Linked DNA regions of Homo sapiens: region 2 is linked to region 1. The links are contacts of gene promoters, found by promoter capture Hi-C in human tissues and cell types (Jung and others, 2019). All regions are on one chromosome and are shown on one strand. Each heading gives the region's core, a stretch centred on a gene start or on the middle of the fragment in contact. The rest is flanking DNA. Distances are from core to core; before and after follow the strand shown.

Evidence for each region. The method cuts DNA at HindIII sites, captures the fragments that hold promoters and counts their contacts. A contact is called where the count stands out against the background at its distance.
Region 2: a contact is called between a fragment that was not itself captured here and the fragment with the promoter of CA10 in region 1, in 3 of the 25 tissues and cell types used here (dorsolateral prefrontal cortex, heart left ventricle and hippocampus).

The regions. Positions count from the first base shown.
Region 1 is chr17:52,155,888-52,162,493 of GRCh38, forward strand. CA10 (carbonic anhydrase 10) reads right to left here and starts at 2,827. Exons shown (of 9, transcript NM_020178.5): 1 at 1,839-2,827. The coding sequence starts at 1,899. RefSeq lists a silencer at 3,382-3,676. The HindIII fragment of the contact is 19,034 bases long and covers 1-6,606 here.
Region 2 is chr17:52,204,165-52,210,770 of GRCh38, forward strand. No RefSeq gene overlaps it. Among named protein-coding and RNA genes, the nearest start is that of CA10, 49 kb to the left of the region's middle. The HindIII fragment of the contact is 6,819 bases long and covers 803-6,606 here.

The DNA.
Region 1 (6,606 bases), core at 1,577-4,076:
ATAATTTAGTTGCTGATACACCAAATCAAATATAGCTGTGACAGGTATCCCACTAATGCTTTTTTTGGAGGCTAAGATCAGACCCTTTCTCAGCCTGTTCCCCTCGGTGATTGCCTGGCGAAATTCAGGGTAAGGGCTGGGGACAGAGAGGATGCTGGAGGAAATCCAGAGCCTTAATCAATGTTAACCCTTTATAAATCTTAAAGGTACTCAGATGGCTTGTCTGATTTGAAAATTATTAATGACACTGGGGAGAAGTAAGGAAAGGCTATTTTATAACTAGTCAAATATTCTGGAACAAGAGAGAGAGTTTGAAATAGACATGTAGAAGAGAAAGATGTAAAATATGGCCTTGTGAGATGCCACCCACTTCATATCTGGACATATGACTGATATAAACCTTTACAAGTCACTTGAGAATTTTCACTCCTAGATGCAGAATGGAATAATAGAAGTCCCACTAGAGGAGTTGGGGTGACCCCAGGGCACATTTTCTTGTCTGCCAGGTACACAACACATCTCACTGATGTATCACAGAGACAAATTTCTTAATAGGGTAGCCAAGCCCCACACAGAATGATTTCGGATAAGAGTCCCATTCCTTCCCTATGAGGAGAAAATTGGAAGCCAGACTGGGATTTGGAACAGAGTCCAGGGTGAGGGCAGAACTAGGGTTGTTTTCTCCTATCCAGAATCAGGTCTGGCTTAAAGGGAGGGGATTGACAGGGCTGAAGGAAGAGGCAGGAAACATGTCTCTCCACCCCAGTGCTGCTTAAATGTGGCTGCTCAAAGGGGCAATATCCTGCTCTCCTCTTCTGATGACTTCATGGGAAGTTGGCCGAGTCCCCACTTCTGCAGAAGAATGCAGGCAGAAGGGAGCACTACAAATGGGCTTTTCCTTGGGTGCTTAAGTGGCAGGTGTGAAGGGAAATGGGGTGGGTGCCTTCAATGGGAGGAGCCACTGAACTGGGGAATACTGCTGGTCCAGGGGCTTTCCCCTTTCCCTCCCAGCTTCCTCCCAACCCCAATTCCCTGCATCAACAAAGACAGTGCTCAAAAACCAGAACTCGTCCTAACACACTCAGGCACAGGTGTCCACAAGCCCAACCTCTTTCACCTCAACACCCTGAAATCCCGTTTGCTCTTAAAAGCACAGACAGGCCCAAGTAGACTGAGAGGTCTGAGCCAGCACATCCTTGCTACTGGGAATTAAAAAACACCGTGATGTAAAGAAAGTGGTATTTGTGACACTGTAGTGCTTTAACAAGAAAATTGGGGGGGTAGAGGAGGGTGTGTCAGCAGGTTTCAAAGCATCACAATCAGTCCTGATGTGTTTGGGTAAGGCATGGAGGACATATCTCTGATCCCTGCTGGTACTCTCCAGTCCCGCATCCTCCCGCAGTCTCTTGAAAGTGGTTAGATACCCGGGCAGGGCCCCGCGTCCATTTTGCCAGCCAGGAACCACCGAGTCTGGGAACTTTGAAAGCCAGGGGATGGGGGTGGTTGTTGCCAAGGCTCGGATTTCGGCGCCAGAGTTCTCAGCCAGGAAAGCAGTTGAAAATCAACACCCATCTGCCTCTTCTTTCTCATCCCCCACCACTTTTTCCTTCACCCTTCTAGGACTGCACACAGATCCTAACCACCCCCCCCCGCAAAACACACACATTCACACACCCTTGGGCTGAGAAGATTTTTGATTCTGAAGGCGGCAAACCCGCAGAACTCAAAGGGTCTCGCCACCCCTCTCTCTGCCCCGCGGCTATATACAATAAAACCCCATACACCCCAGACATCACAACATAATCCAAATCAGCCAGTGACTTCGGCGCGTCCCGTACCTGATATGCAGACGATGAAATTGGCTTGAAGAAGAAAAAGCACCTCCCAGACTATTTCCATCCTCTGATTCTCATTCCAAGTGCATCACTCGACGGGAAAACGGGGGGAAGGGGGGAGCCCGACACGGCACACACACATACACACTCGCACACACTTCCGAGCGAGTGCACACTCGCACTCCCACCCGACAGCCGGCCAGGGACAGTCACCCCCAAGATCAATATCGCAGTTTGAATTGTTCCGGCAAATCTCCCCTCGGGCTCGACGGATGTGCGCCCCAGATGTGCTGACACATGTCCGATGCCTCGCTGCCTTGGAGGTCTCCCCGCTCGCGTGTCTCTTCTCTTCGCACCAGCGGCGGAAACCGCACTAGCAGCGGCGGCGGCGGCGGCGGCGGCAGCAGCCACCTGAAGCCACCAACACTGGGCTCTTCCAGCAAAAACGAGACCCCGATTCGTCTGGCGCCCCAAGAAGACATAGACGATAGCCCCCCGCCGGGCTGCGCCGTGCAATTCCGGGCTCCCGGGAGCGCGTAGCTCGCTGGCTAAGCCCAGGCAGTCCGCGGCAAGTTGCCCTCGAAGTCCGCCCCCCTCACCGGGGCATGGTCGGAGGGTGGCTGCTGCGCTCCGGGGCAGTTCTTCTCCTGCTTCCGGGGGGCGGGGAAGGAGCAGACACAGCAGACACACAGAGAAAGAGAGGCAGGGATTATTGCCCGAAACCGCCAGCCGCCGGCAGCCTCCGCCGACCCTCCCTGCTCCCCAGGTCCGCGCGCAGCCTGCAGCCTCTCAGCCGGGTTCCGGCAGTGCGTCCAGGGCGCCGAGGGGAAGGGCTGGGCCCCGGGGACTGGGGCGCGGTGGGGGCACACAGACTCTCCAGGTCGCGCGCGCCCTTCCTGCTCCTCTGCTATTTTCCTGAACTCCCCAGAACCCCCAGTTGCCTGGCTTCCATCGCCCGCAACTAGCGCCGCTGTCGAGATTTTCCGCAATACAACTGCAGGGGTCGTTATTTCCTCGCCTACGGATCCCTACGCTTCCCAACTCAGAGAGGAGGAGGACAGGTGGGGGCGGGAGGGGGAGGAGGAGAAGGAGGCTTGGCCAGGTGAGCGTCCTCGCCGCCGCCGGGCGTCCCAGCGTCAGCTCCGCAGCCCGGCACCCGGGGGCGGAGGCAGGAGGCCCGGGCGGGGAGGTGAGGCTGAGCGCGGCCATGAGGAGGAGGAGGAGGAGGCTGGGTGTCACAGCTTCAGGCCACCTTGGCCGCCGCCTCGGCCCCAGTCCCTGGCAGCCGCCTCCGCACTCCGCCCCGCCCTGGCTGCCTCTGTTACCCTCCAGGATTTTCGAGTTTCTCTTCTTAAAAAGAACTTCGTGCTGCGGGTTCGGCGCGGGAGACCCAGGCAGGACTCATCCTGGGAGTGCTGTGCTGTGCTCTCCCTCCGCTGCGAAATATTGGAGATTTTTTTGCATAATTCATTCCCTGCCCTCTCCATTTCGTCCCTCTCATGCCCCCCACCCTTTACCCCTTTCCGTGCCAGTGCCAGAACACTACTTACCCCAGAGTTCTTTTCTCTGCAGGTTCCTAGACCAGGTGCAACTCTTGCCTGCAAGTCCCTGCCTCCCTCCTCCCGAAAAGGGGGAACACCGCCTTTCCAAGTCCGGGTGCCAGCAGCGGCTGCTGCCAACTGCGCCTTCGCCCAACTCCAGGAGGATCCGGGACTATTGGAAACCCGGGCTTTAGAGGAACGGGCTTCCCTTCTTGTCTTTCTTTTATTCTGCTTTTCTTTAGGGAAGCTCTAGTGCTTTGGAGGCTTTTGCTGGGCTCCAGGATACTTTCCGCCAACGACACTCAGCAGCTTCCACTGAAGGAGATTTCCCCACCAAACCCGCGCGCGCACACACACACACACCCAGCGCGCGGCTCTCCAGGGCCCCAGGGGAAAGTAGGGGCGGCGCGAGCACCACCCACCCACCCAGGCCGAGGCCAGGGGCAGCCAGTCCGCAGAAGGTCTCGTGGGGAGGCGGGCTGTCTATAACCTAGGAAAGACTTGCACCCGGTTGCAGTGTGGATGCAGGGGAATTGAAGAAAACCCTGTGCTCAGAACTGCTTGCCTAAGAGGGCTGGGAACGAAAGGGGAAAGACAAAATCTCAACAGATTTGTCTGCTTCCATCGCTGCAGTGGTGGTTTGCGAAAGCTCAAACCTACCTCTTTGGGGTTATTGAAGAAGAGGAGGGAGCGTAGAGGGAATCCCTGGGAAGATCCAGGATTTCTCGGCGCGCTTGTCCCGATTGGGAACTGTGACGTTAGGAGATTTTGCACAAGCGCGGATGAACACACACATAACAAACACAAACACACACATACCCCGCGGGGATTTTTTATCCACTTTTAATATTTGATGTTTAGAAGCTATTTCAGTATAAACCTCGGTCTAAGAACTGCACAAAGGGTAGATAAGTGGAGATGGAGGAGGGGAAGGAAAGGGTGCCCGTTCATCCGCACAGAGTCAATCTAGTGAATCTTCCCGTGTTGATCCCAGCACCCAGGCTGTGCGACATCTGAGGGTGCGGAGTGGGAGCTAAAGGAGTTACATTACAGTGCTCCCAGGGTTCTTGAAGGGACTCCAACTGCCCAGGAGTCTGGCGGGTCTTTTTGCTGAGTGGCGGGGAGAAGAGGGAGGAAAAAGAGAGAACGCAGAGCAGATCAGCAGCTCTCTGAGCTGTCTGGGCTGGGCGGCTGCGGGAGCCAGAGCTACGTAGTCCCACCGACTCTAGGGATTCGAAAAAGGAACCGCCGACAGACCTGCCTACTCTTAAAGAAGGAGATGTGGCCGTGAGATCTGTTCTGTGAAACAAAGGCCAAGGACTCTAGGTGGTCAACACATTAAAAATCTAGGCCCAGATGAAATAAATCCAGCATTCTTATGTAGAGAGCTTCCAGGCTCAGCAGGGAAAAGCATGAAACTTCAGAACATTAAAAGAATTCCGGATAGTGAGAATTAGCCCATTTGGGAAATATATGGGGGCATTTGTCTCCGTGCCTTGAAAGTAGACTGCATGAAGAATTATTATTATTTTTTCTTTCTTTCTTTCTTTCTTTCTTTCTTTCTTTCTTTCTTTCTTTCTTTCTCTCTTTTTTCTTTTTTCTTTTTCTTTTTTTGAGGAGAGAGGGAGAAAGAAAAAAAAAAAAGCAGTCTGACAAAGATGAGCAGATTCCAGCCTGGTGAGAGTTCAGAACCGTGGACAGCGACCTACCATCCCTGCTTGGGTGGGGAGATAGGCTGGCAGAAGAGGTCTCTCCTCTGGAAGCAGAAGCATGGTGCCTGAATTTTTATGTCACTACCCACTCATTTACTAATGAATTCTGCAATTATTAAGTGTCTTATATGTGTCAAACACTGTGGCAAGATGCTTGGGCTTTGTAATTGAAAATGCATTATCCTTGCTTTCAAAAAAATCTGCAGACCATATATCCCTCTATATTCTGCTTTAAGAGCCAATGCCAGTAAAATAATACTTTATTTCCACCCTTTCAGTCTGCATACTCACCTCCAGCATTCCCAAAGAATATTTAATCTGTGATCTGCCACTAAGTGCTTTCAGTTTTTAAAAAAGGCAACTCACATGACAGTATTTGTTAGTTTAAAAAAAGTTTGAGTGTATTGATTGTTGTGTGTGAAGTATTATGTGTATTGATTGTTATGTGTGAAGACTATGTGTGAAGATTCTGAATCCCTTACATAAATTATCTCATTTAATCATCATAATGTGATGGTGAGATAAATGTCATTATCACTTCCCTTTTACTGACAATAAAACAATACCAGGGTAGTTATTTGCCCAAGGCTCCACAGCTGCAAATCAGTAGTGTAGAGACCATAGCTGGAAAGTCTAAACTCAGAAGTCATGTCACACCACTTCCTTATATGCTCTGTAAAATGAAAAATATCATCTTGGGGAGGTTATTTTGCACTTAAAGAGAACAGAAGTACACATATGACAGCTGGAAGTTAATCAAAGGTGGTATTAAAATTTAATGGTAGACAATGCAATTTAGAACCCAACTACATTAGTTGGGATAAGGAAAAGATCACTGGGAATCAGAAGTAATCAAAAGCGTTTCTAATGATAGAATTTTGGCACCTGCTAGATGTCAGTTCTGGTTCTGGCACTTGGAATACAGCAGTGAACACAATAGTCCCCAACATATTGATTCCATACTAGCAATTGCTAGAAGAAAGAGCCATACATTTTTGAGTCATTTCTAGGCTACTACATTTCTAGAGTAGGTTGCTATATGTTTTTCTGAGAAATTCACCATCTTAATACAGAAAATAACTCAGTAAAAAAAAATGCATTAAATAGAAGCCTTTAAATTTAAGTAAATTCTGCCTCTCTTTTTTGTTGTTTTTTTAGCCCAAAAAACAAACCAAATAAATGTGGGAAAAAAATTCCATGAAGCTAGAAAATATTCTTAGACGTTTTCATATTTTAATGTGCTTATATGTATATCTAAATAACTACAAAGAATCTCTCCACATCATACCCGCCTTTATCTTTTGTTCCTTTCCTACTCCTCTACATTTCTGCACTACAAATCAAGTGTAAGTATCTTACACATTTAACAGAGAGTCTTGGCCAAGCCCACCCAAGTGTGAGAGATACCAATTGTCCTATAGAAAGCAAGGAATTATATTTCCATTTTCCAAGAGAGAATAATATTAAATTCCTTTGGGTTCTTCCTGTACCTTCTCTTTCACTCAACGCCATAGAAGA
Region 2 (6,606 bases), core at 2,962-5,461, 50 kb after region 1:
CCTGCATTAACTTTCTTCTGTTCTCTGTCTCAGTTCCTTACTTCCCTGCCATACTTGCTCCCCTCCCAAATAAACTACTTGCACTAAAATTTGAATCTCTGGTCTTGCTTCCAGGGGCAACTAATTTAAGATGTTTCTTCTTAAAGTCTGAGCTTTGATCACAGGCCGATAGAGAATGTTAGAGTTCTCTTCAGTTATCAAATCAGCTTGAAATATGAAAGTAACTAATCTGCACAAACTGATTTCCCATAGACTGAGCACAGAAGAAGATGAGCATCTAATCGAGACAGGCCATTGGTCAAAAACGACTGGAGCAGTTGTAAGTAACTGCTAGATGTATGCTAATTCCAGTTTGATATTTATGTTTGTATTTGTCATCAAATACTGCAATTGCACATATTACTTTCCCACTGTTCTCAGAGGAAGAAGTATGCTTCTTTCTATTATGGCTAATTCTTCCTCCACCCATGCTATCATTTCATCCTGTTTCACCTTCTCAGGGACCCTGCTACATCACTTCTACCCTCTCTTTTGTTCTTGTAGTTACCTCTTTTCACCCTTTACCCATAGCTGAAATTTTTATTGTTCTTTTTCTATTTTCAGTAAAGCTTTTTAAAAAGGATAGACTCCTCTTACTGCCTTCTACTTCCTCACCTCCCACTCAATTCTCTGCCTACTGCAATTTGGCTTCTACACTCCCCATTTGATGGAAATGCCATTTTTTTTGAGGGTTAGATTGGTTTGTGGCAAAATCCAATTGTAAATTTTCAGCCCTTATATTACTTAACATCGTCATGATAATTATGTAACCTCTTCAGATTCACTTGTGGCAAAATCCAATTGTAAATTTTCAGCCCTTGTATTACTTAACCTCTTTATGATCATTGACAGTACAGAGATGAAAAGCAATATTGCATGTAAGTGCTCAATAGTGTCATCTATTATTACTAAGATTATTATTGCCCACTCACTAACTTCTTGAGACCTATTTGGAAGCTTTCTGGAAAGAACTTCTCTCTGTTTGCTTGCTTTTCTCCTCCCCTTCTGGTTTCTCTTACTTCATTCCATTCATTGGATCCCATGCTTTTGCTCACTCTTTAAATGTCTATGTTCCTACAGAGCTCTATTTCCTTCTTCTCTGACTCTACACATGCTCCCAGTGAGATTTTATTTACCTCCATAACTTCAGAAATTGATGTCTCCAGTCCAGAAATATTTGTTGAATTACATCTTTCATTTCTGATTCATTCTGATCTTTCATGTTCTGATAGAACATCCCTATCTGGAGGTTCTAAAAGGCTATTGGACTCAACATATGCAATGTGGAATTTATTTTCCTTTTTATGCCTCTCTACCCCTCTATACTTCTTCTCTAGTATTTTCTATTATAAATGGCACCACCACCTCCTTAGTAGCCCAAGCCAGAAACCTGCGTATAATCCTATATTTTCCTTCTCACATACCAACCACCCCTTCAACTGTGTCCAGTTGTCTACTATAGCCCATAGATTATAATATCTGAATATGTCTCCAATCTGTTTCCTCCTATGCAACCCACAGACATTACTGGAGTTTGTGGTCTCATTATATCTTGCTGGGAAGCTTGCCCCAGCATCCTACTCGCCCCCTGTCTCCAGTCTTGTCTACTTCCAGTTTATTGCCTGATGCCAAAGATGTATTCAAAAATATAATTCTATATATAACATGACCATGTTTGAAATATTTTTATTGATCTTAATCACCCACCTAAATAGAAAAACCCTAGTACCTATAAGAATCTTGATGATCTAGACATGTTTGGCTTTGAAGCCCTATAAATCACCCCACTCCAAATATATCACAGCCATACAGAACTGCTTAGTGGCATGCCCTGTTTTTGTTTCCATGGCTTCCTCCTTCATGCATTCCTCATCCCCACTCCCCCAAAGGAAGAATTAAGATTCCTGTACTGAGATAAACATCCAACCATTATCCCCACTCTATATTATAATTAGAATAACTTGTTTATATGTTTGTCTTTTTTAGTAGCCTGTGAAATCCTTAGAATTGAATTATTTCCTACTATTCCTCTTTAAAACTTCAGGGTTTATCAAAGTGCTTTAGTTCATTCCAGGCTATGAGTTCAGAAATTTCTATCCAATTCCTGTCTGTTATCTTTTAAAGACTGATTCACAGAAGTACTTCGGGGATTATGAAGAACATAATAAATAGGCAAAGTCAAGAGTTTGGTTTCCAATATGAGAAAATTATGATCAGCTGGGAACTGGAGTCAGAGGCTAAGAGTCCAAGTCCTCAATTGTGCCATGTTCTCTTTCTGTGAGTTTGAGCAAGTTACTTTAAACCCTCTGTGCTTAACTTGGCTCATCTTTAAAGCTATGTTTGTAATTCCTGCTTTACCATCCTATTGTACAGATTAAATGAGATAATATATGGCAAAACCCAACTTTGTAAATTGGGAAATGCTAAACAAATGCCAGATTTTATGATCACCACACAGAAGTAGCTTATTAGATTTTGAAAACACAACTGCTCTATCATTTGGAAGGATTTCAATGGCAAGAAACAAAAACCAGAAAAACAGCGGCTTAAACAAATAGAGGCATTTTTTTTTCATTCACTAGAAATATGGAGGCAAGTTGTTGGTTCAGCTGGCTCATTGTGCTACCAGGGCCTCAGGATCTGCTTCTAATTTTACTCCATTATCTTTTGCTTCTTGGCTTTTGTCTTTATACTTGTTGCCTCAAAGGTGGCTGCAATAGTTACAGACATTACATCTGCATCCAAAGTAGAAAGAAAGGAGACAAGGGAAGAAATGCCAGTTTACTTGTTCTTTTTATGAGGAAAGCACATGTGTTTCCAGAAGTCCCCATCAGACTTCTGCTCCTCTCTCATTGCCTGAAACTCACATGGCCATTGTGAGCTGTATGGGAGACTGGACAAGCATTTAGCCTTCTCAGCCTATAGATGAATGTAGGCAAGGAAAAAGGGGCTGGCTGGAGGATGGCTGTTGGCTTTGCCAGCTAACAGTGTTTGCCACACATATCTTCCTGAAATATCTCAGTATTCAATCAATTGATGAACAATAAAGTGTAGCATTGTGTTCTCAAATCTGCTTTCAGTGGGCCTGGGTTAATCATTAAGACTGACTGAGAGTCAGCATGTCTTTTCAGGTGTCTGGTCTTCCCATCAGATATCAATATATTTTTAAATAAAGATCATGGAATTCTGTATTTAATGGAAGAAAAATTCACCCAAGCTTTATGCTTGGACCTCAGAAAAATGCACCCATTAGAAATTGGAGAGTAAATTAAGAGAAGAGACTTCCTTGAGAATTGGCTTTCCAGCACAATTTTCAGTACCATACAGTGTAGAAAGGCAAACAAGAAAGGATTGAAGATAGGTGAAGATTTACAAACAGGAAAGAGGTGCTGGAAGAAAGCAAAAAACGAAATGAACAAACAAAATTAAAATAATTTCATTCCACTTTCTACTCAAGTCCTAACATAGCATTTAATTTATAATGAGCAACACAATTTCCCTCCCTAGTTCCACCTGCTAGCTGGAATAACTGTAGGGAAACCCAGGAATTCTTTAGGATTGCTAGCGAGTTCACTGGGGTTATTTTCATTTTCTAGTTCTGGTATGATTACAAGTAGCTTTTTTCTTTTCATTAGTTATGTCACATAGAAATAGAGGGCACCTCAAACAATATGTTGATTGAAAGCACACAAAGCCATGACTCTGTCTAAGGATCAGTTTGGTCAAGGAGTGTACCTTGTGCTGTGTCTGTTCTGCTGGACTACATGGCACTCTAGAGTAGAACAGCTCTGCAGCCCCAGCAGATGGCCACTTTCTGTTTTTAGAAGAGCCGACTTGGGATGCCTTATGCTTTTAATCTTGTTGAAAGGCGTTCTAAAAACTCAGAGCCTATCAGTTGCTCTTCATCTTTTCCATTCAAGTGAGAGCAAAAATGCATTAAAATTAATTTATTATTTAAAACCATAGGAATGGAATGTATAATGTCCTTCACAGAAATGTAGAAATTAATTCTAGCAATAAACCTGAGACCAGACTGCAAAATCACGATGAACTATTCTAACCATCTGCATTTAACATTATGTGAAAAATTACCTAGTCAAAGCAGTCTATTATGTGCTTCCTTCTAGGTCTTCCCATCCCTTCCCTTTCTTTCTTTCCTTTTTTTTTTTCCTTTCTCTCTTTCACATAGTCCTTAGCTTAGGCCACAAAGGCAGTCAGATAGGTGATTTTGTTACAGCTGTGTACCTGAAGAATTCCACAGACTTTTATTTTAAGGTCTGAAAACACTTTTATTTGCAGTACTAACATTGCAAGTGTCAACTCTTTTGTGAAGGACATGATTACATCTAGTCTCTTTTTTTTTTTTTCACATACATCATCTAATGATATTTTCACGGTTAAAACTAAGACACTGGTTCCTTAAATTGAATTATGTTGAAAATGCATTTCTAGTTGAAGACAAGAATTTGATTTATTTGCTATCTGTATCTATACATTTTCATTGGTTAACAAGGCTTCAAATAGCTTTGAGTTGTCGGCTTCAAATAGCTTTGAGTTGTCAACTTCAAATATCATAATTGCCATGCTCATAAGTTGCACACAAGTGAAGGAAGTTGACTAACTTGTTGAGATATGCAGACAGCTGGATAATTTTTTTAAAGTAAATTTAAAATTATCTTTTTTTTATGATTCCTTTGCAAAAGGTAGTGTTTAAAGTATATAAAGAGAATGACTTCTAAAGGATTGGAGAGACCCTTAAGTTTGGAGAGCTAGAAGATACTCTCAGAGTTTAATTTTTCAAGTTTAGTCCTTCCCCCACTGCTAGTCTTTACTCCCCCACGTTTTTTTTTAAGAACATTTTTCTAGATAAGTGAAAGACTTCCCAAGGTCACATGACTCACTGGCATGAGATCTCACATCTCATTTCTGATCAGTGTTTATTCTGCTAAAACTGCTTTTCAATATGAAAAGCATTTTTAAAGGATTGAACGTACATTGAAATCAGACTCAGGTTGAAGGAAAGAGCTTATGTTTAACTGGTTATATTAAAAACTTCACACAGAAAACTTACATTAAAATGAATTTAAATATTTCTCAGGGAAATGTAGTGCAAGATACACACACTTGGGAGTCAGATGTATCTGGGTTTATATCTCAGCCCTGTGTTATAACCTTGAGAAAGTTATCTACCTCTTCTGAGCATAAGGATACCTATTTTGCACTGTTTTGAAAATCAGTACTGTATTTGAAATACCTAGTGTAGTACCTGGAATATAGTAGGTACTCAAAAAATCATGGCTTTTATCAGGTAACATAAAACCCAACTTTTATATAAGTGATGGTGAGGCTTACATAATCTCAGAAATACTGGGAAAAAAATGTGTACTGTGCTGGTGTCAGTGTAAAGAAAATAGGCTGATAAAAATGAGTCTAGGTAGGTAAATACTAGATGCTCACAATGTTAGTTCCTGCTTCCCTTGACATGAGTCAGCTCAGATGTTGAAGGCATTTCAACTAAAGGTATATATACCTTGCCTAGGTTCTTAGTCAGACCTGAGCAAGGTAGGGGGCAGAGTATCAGAACCAGCCACTCCAGCTGATGGGGCCTGGAACTATTCTTTGTATAGTACAGTACACTAGCCAACTTGCTTGGGAACTCCACCTGTATGGTTTTGGCACTTGGGTTAGTTTGTTCCCATGCTGCTAATACAGACATACCCAAGACCGGGTAAATTATAAAGGAAAGAGGTTTAATGGAATCACAGTTCCACATGGCTGGGGAAGCCCCATAATTATGGCGGCAGTCAAAGGAAGAGCAAAGGGATGTCTTACATGGCAACAGGCAAAACAGTGTGTGCAGGGGAACGCCTCTTTATAAAACCATCAGATCTCATGAGATTTACTCACTATCATGAGAACAGCATGGGAAAGACCTGGCCCTCATTATTCAATTACCTCCCACTGGGCCCATCCCATGACATATGGGGATTATTATAATTCAAGGTGAGATTTGGGCGGGGACACAACAAAACCATATCACCACTTTAAAAAACAAAAACAAAAACAAAACAAAACAAAACAAAAATCATTGGTTTGTGGAGCTTTGGTTCTGAACTGCTACGTTGGTGTCTTGATTCAGATACTGATTCCTCTAGTGAAGCCTGGGACACTTTGCTGAGACACTGACATCTCACCAAGTCCTTAACACCCATCTGTTTTAGAGATAGACACTGTTAACTTATAGCCTTTGATGCTGACTGCGCTCCTGTTCCATGTAGATGTTTCATTTGTAACCAAAATGCTTCCACTGCCTGGACTTGGTATTTCATGCAGCAGGAGAGCACAGGATTAGAATAAGCTCAACCTCACCACATCCTTCTGAATATCGTGATTGTACTGTGGGTTACTGCCATCAAGTACTTATCTTCTATTTAGTTAATTCATCCACCTAGATTTTATTCCAACCCAGTTTGTTTTCTGTCTCTCACTGATGAGCTTCCATAGTTGCTTGTACCAAGTTGTCTTGAGCTAAGAATTTTCTGGAAGATCTGCAGGTAAAAGAAAAGA